Linked DNA regions of Homo sapiens: region 2 is linked to region 1. Evidence: promoter capture Hi-C in human tissues and cell types (Jung and others, 2019). All regions are on one chromosome and are shown on one strand. The core of a region is centred on a gene start or on the middle of the fragment in contact, and the rest is flanking DNA. Distances in the headings are between cores, read along the strand shown. Region 1 holds the start of CACNG6 (calcium voltage-gated channel auxiliary subunit gamma 6). Region 2 has its middle 22 kb from the start of NLRP12.

Region 1 (5,377 bases), core at 894-3,393:
TGATCAATAAAAAGAAAAAAAAATATTTCCTGAGGACTTCCAAGTACAAGGCCCTGCAATCTCAGGCCACTTCTGTCCCATCTCTGCCTTCAGAGGGGGGGACAGGTAGTCCAGACAATTAGAATACAGAGGGGGCTGTGTTCTGACGGGGCCACGCGGGCATTGAGGAAACGCAGCAGGCCCCTCCCCTAGCTGGGGCGGGGATGTCTGTGTGCCATCATCTCACTCCATCTGGTCATTCCTTTGCCCATTCATCCATCCATTCATTCAAGTCACCCCATGCACATTTTCCAAGACTGCCTGTGACCTGGCCCTGTGCCGGGTAGAGCTGAGGATGCCAAGGTGAATTCCTCCTGTGCCTGGCCCCGGCCCCAGTCTGCTGGAAGAACCAGACACAGACAATCACACTGCGGGGAAACACGTGCTCCATCGGAAAAGTCCAGAGCAGGGGGTGGGCAGAGAGGCCCAGCGTGCACCAGAGCCTCGCTCAGGTCAGCGCCAGGCCTGCCTGGAGCAGCCAACTGTGGGAGAAGAAGGAGTTGGTGAAAGGTGGGTCCCACCTGGGCCGTCCACAGAAGGGCTGAGGGGTAGGGGGTGAGGGGTTGAAGATCAGGCCCTGCCGCCATGCCACACGGCTGTCCTCTGTCCCTGCTCCTGGGGGAGCTGAAACTGCATGGAAGGTCCCCCAGGGGTGCCCCGTCTAATAAACTCGATGAAGAGGAGTGCTGCTTTCATTCTGTGCCCCTGACAGCCGGCCCTGCCCTGAGGCCTGCGCTTTCTCCAACATGGAAATCAGGCCTTCCATCCTTCAAGACCCAGGGTTCTGGCCCCAGTCTCCTCCCTGAGGCCCAGGACTCTGGGTCTGCCAACGCCTTGACCAGGAGTCCAGGCTCCCCGGCCCTCCTCCTCCCTCAGACCCAGGAGTCCAGGCCCAGCCCCTCCTCCCTCAGATCCAGGAGTCCAGGCCCCCTGCCCCCTCCTCCCTCAGACCCAGGAGTCCAGGCCCAGGCCTTCCTCCCTCAGACCCAGGAGCCCAGGCCCCCAGCCCCTCCTCCCTCAGACCCAGGAGCCCAGGCCCCCAGCCCCTCCTCCCTCAGACCCAGGAGCCCAGGCCCCCAGCCCCTCCTCCCTCAGACCCAGGAGTCCAGGCCCCCAGCCCCTCCTCCTTCAGACCCAGGAGTTCAGGCCCCAGTCCCTCCTCCCTCAGACCCAGAAGTCCAGGCCCCCAGCCCCTCCTCCCTCAGACTCAGGAGCCCAGGCCCCCAGCCCCTCCTCCCTCAGACCCAGGAGTCCAGGCCCCAGCCCCTCCTCCCTCAGACCCAGGAGTCCAGACCCCCAGCCCCTCCTCCCTCAGACCCAGGAGCCCAGGCCCCCAACCCCTCCTCCCTCAGACCCAGGAGTCCAGGCCCCCAGCCCCTCCTCCCTCAGACCCAGGAGTCCAGGCCCCCAGCCCCTCCTCCTTCAGACCCAGGAGTTCAGGCCCCAGTCCCTCCTCCCTCAGACCCAGAAGTCCAGGCCCCAGTCCCTCCTCCCTCAGACTCAGGAGCCCAGGCCCAGCCCCTCCTCCCTCAGACCCAGGAGTCCAGACCCCAGCCCCTCCTCCCTCAGACCCAGGAGTTCAGGCCCCCAGCCCCTCCTCCCTCAGACTCAGGAGCCCAGGACCTAGGAGACCAGGTTCCTCTCCTCTCAGATCCAAGATTCTGGGTACCCAGGCCTTCTTCCTCTACCACTCAGAAGTGGGGTACCGAGGCTTCTTCTCCCTTAGGGACCCAAGACTCCTGGCCTCAGGCCCTCCTCCCTGAGACCCGGGGCCCTGCCTCCCGCCCCTCCTCCCTGGTAACCCCAGTCAGACTTGCTGCCCCGCCCGTCTCCTGCTGCCCGGGAGACTGCGGAGCTGGGACTCTCGGCGCCGCTCTTGCCCCTTAGTGAAATGAAAGTCCCATCAGGCTCGGCCCCTTCCTCCCCGGGCGGCCTCCCTCCCCCCTTCCTCGTCCCCTTAAAACACCCGGGATCCCTATGGCAACAGGCGCCGGGCGACAGGTGCGGGTGTTATTTACGGGTCAAGCCCGAAATAGCCCCGAGGGTGGAGGGTGGAGGGTGGGGGGTGGGCGGGTGGGGACGAGGCCGGGCGCGGGCGGAGGCCAGGCCGGTGGCGGTGGCGGGCACAGCCGGACGCTTCGGAGGCAGCGCGGAGCTGGGGTCGGCGCGGGGCCGAGGCAGGAGAGCGAGAGGGGCCCCTGCTCGGGAGTCGGGGGTGGGAGCCCCGAGGGGGGGCCCTGGCCTGGGGCTGAGCCTGGCGCGAACCCGACCGGGAAGGCCCTGGGAGCCCGGGGGAGGGAGACGGACTGATCCCGAAGGGGCGCAGCGTCTCTTGCGGGTCGCGGTTGGCCTTTGAACCCTGGGGGGACTCAGTCCTGGTTTTCCGAGCCGCAGTGCGGACCACAGCCCCATAGTGTGAGCCCCAGGAGGGCCCCCGGTCCCATCTGCCCCAGCCCTCGGGGAGGCCCCGTAGCCTCCCGCCTCTGGACTCCACTCTGTCTTCCGGCCACCGGCCCCTTTTCCAGGCTCAGTAGAGACCTCGGATCTTTTCTGAATGGCAGGGGAGACCCCTATCCCCTTTTCCTGAATTCCAGCGAGGCCCAGTCCTCTTCTGAGCCCCAGCCAGGGCTCTGTTCTTCTCCTTCTGTGGATGCCGGGGTCCTACTGCCTCTCTTGAGACCCGGATTGAATTCCGACCTCCCCTTGGGAGCTTCCCGGGACCCCAGGTCTTCCTTTTCCGAATCCCAGAGGGTCCCCAAGTCCTCTGTTCTCAAACTCTGAGCCCAAGGGAACCCCGGCCACATCTCCTCCAAACACACACAGGACCTCAGGTCCCTTCCTGGGTACCCCAAACTCTTAGCCCTAGTGGGGTGCTCAGATCTCTCAGGAAAACCAGTTTCCCTTTTGTTAACCCCCCAGCGGGGACCCCAAAGCAGCCCCTTGGAGCTGCAGGGAGCTTCAGCGGGCACCAGTTCTCATTCCTCTGGAGCTCTTGGGGGGACTCCCTCCTGGGAAGCCGAATTCTATCTCTAAACCTCAGGGTGGGGGCCTTGTTTTTCCTCTGGGCCCCGTCTTCTTTGCCAAGTTCTTGAGGGCAACCTAGACCCTCCTCTGAACCCCAGAGGCTTCCCCAGCCCTGGGGATCATTTTTCTCTTCTGAACCCCAGAAGCAATCTCGACTTTCGCATTTGAGATTCCAGACAGGACTCGGCTCTCCCTCTTTCATACCCAGGGGAAACTGAGTCCCTCACCCCCTTCAAGACCCCAGGCCGCTCCTCGCTCCCGCCCCTCGAGGCCCTTCGCCGGCTCTGCCTCCTCCCCCTTCCCGACCCCACCGGCCATAAGATGATGTGGTCCAACTTCTTCCTGCAAGAGGAGAACCGGCGGCGGGGGGCCGCGGGCCGGCGGCGGGCGCACGGGCAGGGCAGGTCGGGGCTGACGCCCGAGCGCGAGGGGAAGGTGAAGCTGGCGCTGCTGCTGGCCGCCGTGGGCGCCACGCTGGCGGTGCTGTCCGTGGGCACCGAGTTCTGGGTGGAGCTCAACACCTACAAGGCCAACGGCAGCGCCGTGTGCGAAGCGGCCCACCTGGGGCTGTGGAAGGCGTGCACCAAGCGGCTGTGGCAGGCGGACGTGCCCGTGGACAGGGACACCTGCGGCCCCGCGGAGCTGCCCGGAGGTGAGCAGCCGCCGCCCCGAGCGCAGGGCTTGCGTCCCACGGACAGGGAGGGAGAGGGGCCCGTGTCCGAGGAGAAAACCCGCCCCAGGGACAAAAGCCTGAGCCCGGAGGAGACAGCTTGCCTCGCAGTAAGCGCCAGTGCCCACTTCGTCCTCTGCTCTCAGAAACTGCTGAGAGATAGAGGGATCCCCCAGATATGGCCCAGGTCCCTCACGGGCCTACCGCCAGAGAACCTGTGCCTTAGAGCTTGCTTTCCTGCTACAGACTGTACCCCAAGACCAGAATGTGCCTACAGGGAGTCTGTGCCCCCAGGCCATCCTGTACCCCCAGACCAGGCTGTGACCTGAGACCCCCTCAGACGAGTCTGTACCCCTATTCTGCACCTCTAAAGAGAGCTTGTGCCCCCGCCTACAGCCTGTGCCCCAAGACCATCCTGTACCCCGACTATCCTGTACCCCCAGATGAGCCTGTGTCCCCAGCTACAGTTTCCACCCCCAGACTAACATGCACCCCTAGACCAGTCTATACCCCCAGACCAGCCTGCATCCTTACACCAGCCTGTGCCCTCAGATCAGCCTGCACCTCCACACCAGGCTATGGTCCCAGATGATTCTATGACCCCCAAAGTCCCTGCCCCCACACAGCCAATGTTCCCAGGCATCGCTGTGTCCCCCCAGACCAGCCTACAGCTCTAGAGAGAGCCTGTGTCACTAGAAAAATCTTGCCTGTGTCCCCAGACCCAGCCTGTGATTCCAGACACAGCTGGTGTCCTCAGATAGCCTGTGCCCACCCCAGACAGCCTGCACCCTCTGGAAGTGCCTGTGCCCTGGAGACAGCCCGTGCCCACTCTGCATGTGCCCACAGACAGCCTGTGCCCATGGAGAGACAGCCTGGGTTCCTGGTGTCAGCTTCCTCTTCCCAGCCTGGAGACAGCTTGCGCTCCCATCCTGTGAGCCCTGGGGAGACAGACGCCCACCCCAAAGCAGGATCTATGCCTGTTCCCCACCTACTGCTTCCACCAAACCAAGCTCTCACCAGACGCCTCCCAACACCCGAGGGCAGACCTTGTTCCTTCCCTGCAATGTTCTTCACTTCCTGTCCTCTCGCCTCCAAATGCCCAGACTGGACATTTCAGCGTTTCTCATTTTCTCCGAGAGACATTCCCATACTCCCTCCTTTCCCAAATCATGGCTGTTTTATCCCTGGGCATGGCAGAGAGCTGTTCCATACCTCCCTGACACGCCACGCCACGGCTTGTGCTTATACCAGGGGGACATTCTATACCCCTTGGGAACTGGATGAAATCTCCTTCTACCTCCACTGACCCATGGAAAATACCTGGCACTCCTCAGAGCCCATTTGGGCTGTCATATATTTGATCACCCATATGAGATCTCCAGCACTCTTCAGTCTCCAAAGACGGTCCTATCATCCCAGTGCCCCTCAAAGAATATGGCCTATTTTTCTGGGCTCCGTATGAGATTTCCCTCGTCCCTCACTTCTCCAGATGTGATATCTTATATGTGTAGAGTGCAAAATAGGATGTCCCAAGCCCTCGATAGGACAGTGGGATGCCAGGCCCCCCGGCTGTCTGAGCTACCCACTTGGTGTCCAGATGGGCTACCCTTGATCATTTTATTTCTGCAGATGGGCTGTCTCTGG
Region 2 (5,370 bases), core at 2,798-5,297, 140 kb before region 1:
AAAAACAAACAAACATACAACCCCACCCCCCAAAAGACCCTACATCTTAAAACAAGAGGCAAAATTGCCCTCCGTTGAGAACCACTGTTCTAGACTTAATCTGTTAGAGTCATTTATTTATTTTATGCACAGAATAACTTTGCAAAGAGGAATGACTTTTTATTTGTTCCAGATTCTAAAATAATCTATGCAGTCTTCCGTGCAGGTTGAGATACTTAAAACTCTATCGGCAAAGGCCGGGTGTGGTGGCTCATACCTGTAATCCCAGCACTTTGGGAGGCTGAGATGGGCGGATCACGAGGTCAGGAGATCGAGACCATCCTGGCTAACACAGTGAAACCCGGTCTCCACTAAAAATACAAAAAATTAGCCTAGGAGGCAGAGCTTGCAGTGAGCTTGCAGATCATGCCACTGCACTCCAGCCTGGGTGACAGAGTGAGATTCCATCTCAAAACAAAACAAAACAAAACAAAAACTATCGGCAAAGTCACAGCCATGGCTAATTATCATACGTTTGTTCAGCAAATTCACCTTCTTTTTGCAAACATAATTTACACCGTTTAATCGGGAATTTTACACAAAAAAAAAGATTCTAGAAAACATAGCTGTCCATAACTGTCATGGTTTCCAGGTTGCAAGTTCATAATCATTTGAATTATTCAAATGAGTCTCTAAATGCTACAAAAATAATGTCTTCTACAATGACAAGTTATGGAATAAATATATAGTTGATCCTAATTTCAGGACACTTGGTATGTAAATATTTGCTCACGTTTTTCTTTGATACGTACACAAAGACTAATGAGTAAACCTGTGCTCACTTATGTCATAGCTGCTTGAAGGTTTTTGTTTTGTTTTGTTTTGTTTTTTTTGAGACCGAGTCTTGCTGTGTCACCCAGGCTGGAGTGCAGTGGCATGATCTCGGGTCACTGCAAGCTCCGCCTCCTGGGTTCACACCATTCTCTTGCCTCAGCCTCCCGAGTAGCTGGGACTACAGGTGCCCGCCACCACGCCTGGCTTTTGTGTGTGTGTGTGTGTGTGTGTGTGTGTGTGTGTGTGTGTGTGTGTTAAAAGAGACGGGGTTTCACCATGTTACTCAGGATGGTCTCGATCTCCTGACCTCGTGATCTGCCCACCTTGGCCTCCCAAAGTGCTGGGATTACAGGTGTGAGCCACCGTGCCCAGCCGAAGTTTTGTTTTTTGTGTTTTTTTTTAATTTAAGCAAACATATGGTTTTTGTTTTTTATTTATTTGTTTTTGAGACAGGGTCTTGCTCTGTTGTCCAGGCTGGAGGGCAGTGGCAAGATCACAGTTCACTGCAGCCTCAACCTTCCAGGTTCAAGCAATCCTCCCACTTCAACCCCCCAGCTGGCTGGAATTACAGGTGCACACCACTATGCCCAACTAATCTTTGTATCTTTTTGTAGAGACGGGGTCTTACTATGTTGCCCAGGCTGAAATATATGTATTTTAAGGAAAGGATGAAGTAAATAGTATTTTAGTATATAAATAAGAGTTGAGTATCCTTTATCCAAAATGCTTGGGGCCAGAAGCGTTTCGGATTTCTGATTTTTCAGATTTTGGAATAATTGCATATAACCACAACAACCAACATTTACTGAGCACCACGTACTGTGTGTCAGGCAATGATCTGAGCCCTTTACATGCATTAAGTTACGTAATCACTCAACAACCCACGAGGTGTGTATTGTCATCAGTTTCGGTCCACAAAGGGGAAGCAGAGCGGAGAGGAAACCTGCGCAGGAGTGCGCCCAATACCTTTTGCTGTGTAACAAGCCTTCCCCTCCTGTGAAAGGGCCCTATGTGCAAAGCAGCCCCCAAATACACATGGAGTTAAGAAACTGAAGAATGAGGCAAATCCAGGTTATCAATATAAAGTTTCATTTTCTTCTTCTTTATTTGAGATGGAGTCTTGCCCTGACGCCTGGGCTGGAGTGCAATGGTGCGATCTCGGCTCACTGCAACCTCCACCTCCCGGGTTCAAGAGATTCTTCTGCCTCAGACTCCTGAGTAGCTGGGATTACAGGCGCCCACCACCACGCCCAGCTAATTTTTGTATTTTTAGTAGAGATGGGGTTTCGCCATGTTGGCCAGGCTGGTCTCGAACTCCTGACCTCAGGTGATCCGCCCCGCCTCGGCCTCCCAAAGTGCTGGGATTATAGGCATGAGCCACGGTGCCCAGCCCCTCCCTCCTTTCCTTCCTTCCTTCCTTCCTACCTTCCTTCCCTCCCTCCCTCCCTTCTTTCTCTCTTTCTTCTTTTTGTGGAGAAGGAGTCCTGCTCTTTTGCCCAGGCTGGAGTGCAATGGCGCGATCTTGGCTCACTGCAACCTCCACCTGCCAGGTTTGGCGATTCTCCTGCCTCAGCCTCCCGAGTAGCTGGGACCACAGGCACCCACCATCACGGCACGGCCAACTAATTTTTGTATTTTTAGTAGAGATGGGGTTTCACCATATCGGTCAGGCTGGGTCTGGAAATCCTGACCTTGTGATCCGCCCGCCTCGGCCTCCCAAAGTGCTGGGATTGCAGGCGTGAGCCACTGCGCCCGCCTAGTTCCTGTTCTGAAGTTTTTAATAAACTTTCACTAATGCTCTAAAGCTTGCCTTGGTCTCTCCTGCCTTATTCCCCCAGTGGAATTCTTTCTTCTGAAGAGGCAAAAATGGAAGTTGCTGCAGACTCATACGCATTCTCCGCTGCTAACATACTTTGGTGCTCTGTGACTCAGATACTTTCCCTACTGACATTCAAGTACAATAAATAAAATAAAATAAAATAAAAGAATGGTAGGTCTCATCCGAAGGCTCTAGGAGAAAATCAGATTAAAAAAAGAAAGAGGCCGGGCGCGGTGGCTCACGCCTGTAATCCTGTAATCACTTTGGGAGGCCGAGGCGGGCAGATCACGAGGTCAGGAGATCGAGACCATCCTGGCTAACACAGTGAAACCCCGTCTCTACTAAAAATACAAAAAAATTAGCCGGGCGCGGTGGCGGGCACGTGTAGTCCCAGCTACCGGGAGGCTGAGGCAGGAGAATGGCGTGAACCCGGGAGGCGGAGCTTGCAGTGAACCGAGATTGCACCACTGCACTCCAGCCTGGGTGACAGAGCGAGACTCCGTCTCAAAAAATAATAATAATAAATAAATAAATAGAAAAAAGAAAAAATAGGCCGGGTGTGGTGGCTCACACCTATAACCCCAGCACTTTGGGAGGCCAAGGCAGTCAGATCACTTGAGGCCAGGCGTTCAAGACCAGCCTGGCAAACATGGTAAGACCCTCTGCTAAAAATTTAGCCAGACATGGTGGCATTCACCTGTAATCCCAGCTACTTGGGAGGCTGAGGCCCCAAATCGCAGGAGGTGGAGGTTGCAGTGAGCCGAGATCGTGCCACTGCACTTCAGCTTGGGCAACAGAGCCAGACCCTACCTAAAAAAAAAAAAAAGTTGATATTCTATGTATAATATACTATATTCTTACAATAAAGGAAGCTAGAGAAAAGAAAATGTTATCAAGAAAATCAGTGTGCGGCCGGGCACAGTGGCTCACGCCTGTAATCTCAGAACTTTGGGAGGCCGAGGTGGGTGGATCACGAGGTCAGGAGTTCGAGACCAGCCCTTATCAACATGGTAAAACCCCATTTCTAATAAAAATACAAAAATTAGCTGGGCCTGGTGGCACGCGCCTGTAATCCCAGCTACTCAGGAGGCTGAGGCAGGAGAATCGCTTGAACCTGGGAGGTGGAGTTTGCAGTGAGCTGAGATTGCGCCACTGCACTCCAGCCTGGGCCACAGAGTGACACTCCATCTCAAAAAAAAAAAAAAAAAAAAGAAAGAAAATCATAAGAAGGAGAAAGTAGTATATTCACTGTTCATTAAGTATAAGTGGATCATCATAAAGGTGTTCATCTTCATCATCTTCAGGTTGAGTAGGCTGAGGAGGAAGAGGAAGAGGAAGGCTGTCTCCGGGTGGCAGAGGAGGAAGAAAATCCCTGGATAAGTGGACCCACGCAGTTCGGACCCGTGTTGTTCAAGGATCAACTGTATACACGCTTATATTTCTCAAAAACACCCTATGAGTTCAGAGCTTGCCAGATGTAGAGGACCTCACAGTTGACAACCTGAGTGACAGCTGTCAACTCATGTGTCCTATGTCTCCCCGGTATTTATGGAGAGCCCAGCTGGGCTCCATAACCCAGTCCTTGGGGATCTGTTTCCCAAATGCCTCTCTCCAAACGTTGCCGGCTGCCAGATCTCATGTTTTACTCCTCTTCCCCTCGTTCACTCTCCTCCAGCACAGCGTTCATTTTACTCTTTTTAGAACAGGCAAAACACACTCCCACCTCCAGGCATCCGGATCTGCTATTCCCTCCACCAGAGATGCTCTCCTTGGAGGCATGCGGGCCCCACATCAAGCACTGTCTCTGGAGAGGCTTTCTCTCGTCACCTCTCCTAGAATTGCATTGGTTACTCCTGCTCTCATGCCCAGCTTTTTTTCTTTATCACACACGTCACTGTCTGACATAGTGTGACATGTCTGTGTGTTCCTGTGGGTAATTATTGGTCTTCCCTTAAAGTGCAGGAATGCCATGAGGACAGGGACTTTTTTTGTTTTTGTTTTAAGACAGGGTCTGTCTCTATCACCCAGGCTGGAGGGCAGTGATGTGATCACTGCTCACTGCAGCCTTAACTTCCCTGGGTTCAAGCAATTCTCCCATCTCAACCTCCCGAGTAGCTGGGACCACAGGCACATGCCATCATGCCCGGCTAATGTTTGTATCTTTTTTTTGTAGAGACAGGGTCTTGTCATGTTGGCCAGGCTGGTTTCGAACTCCTGGCTTCAGGTGAACCACTGCCTCGGCCTCCCAAAGTGCTGGGATTACAGGCATGAGTCACCATGTCTGGCTAAGGGGACTTTGTTCTTTTTTTTTTTTTTTCCGGAGACAGTCTCACTCTGTCACCCAGGCTGGAGCGTGCAGTGCTGTGATCTCGGCTCACTGCAACCCTCTGCCTCCCGGGTTCAAGCGATTCTCCCGCTTCAGCCTCCCGAGTAGCTGGGACTACAGGCGTGCACCACCACACTCAGCTCAGTTTTTGTATTGTTAGTAGAGACGGGGGTTTTGCCATGTTGCCCGGGCTGGTCTTGAACACCTGGGCTCAAGTGATCCTCCCACCTCGGCCTCCCAAAATGCTGGGATTACAGGTATGAGCCACCACGCCCGGCCTAGAGGACTTTATTTTCTTCATGGCTGTATCTGCAGTGCCCGTCTGTAACAGGGCACAATGCACTCTAGGATACTTGCCGAGTGAGGGAATTTCCCATTAGCTAGTGTAGCTTCATTTCTCCTGCTGCAGCCC

Evidence for each region. The method cuts DNA at HindIII sites, captures the fragments that hold promoters and counts their contacts. A contact is called where the count stands out against the background at its distance.
Region 2: a fragment that was not itself captured here is called in contact with the fragment with the promoter of CACNG6 in region 1 in 2 of the 25 tissues and cell types used here (neural progenitor cells and spleen).

Annotation. Positions count from the first base shown.
Region 1 is chr19:53,989,494-53,994,870 of GRCh38, forward strand. CACNG6 (calcium voltage-gated channel auxiliary subunit gamma 6) reads left to right here and starts at 2,144. Exons shown (of 4, transcript NM_145814.2): 1 at 2,144-3,715. The coding sequence starts at 3,385. It overlaps CACNG8 (calcium voltage-gated channel auxiliary subunit gamma 8), which reads left to right. Exons shown (of 4, transcript NM_031895.6): 4 at 1-722. The HindIII fragment of the contact is 43,229 bases long and covers 1-5,377 here.
Region 2 is chr19:53,843,340-53,848,709 of GRCh38, forward strand. No RefSeq gene overlaps it. Among named protein-coding and RNA genes, the nearest start is that of NLRP12, 22 kb to the left of the region's middle. The HindIII fragment of the contact is 5,768 bases long and covers 1,164-5,370 here.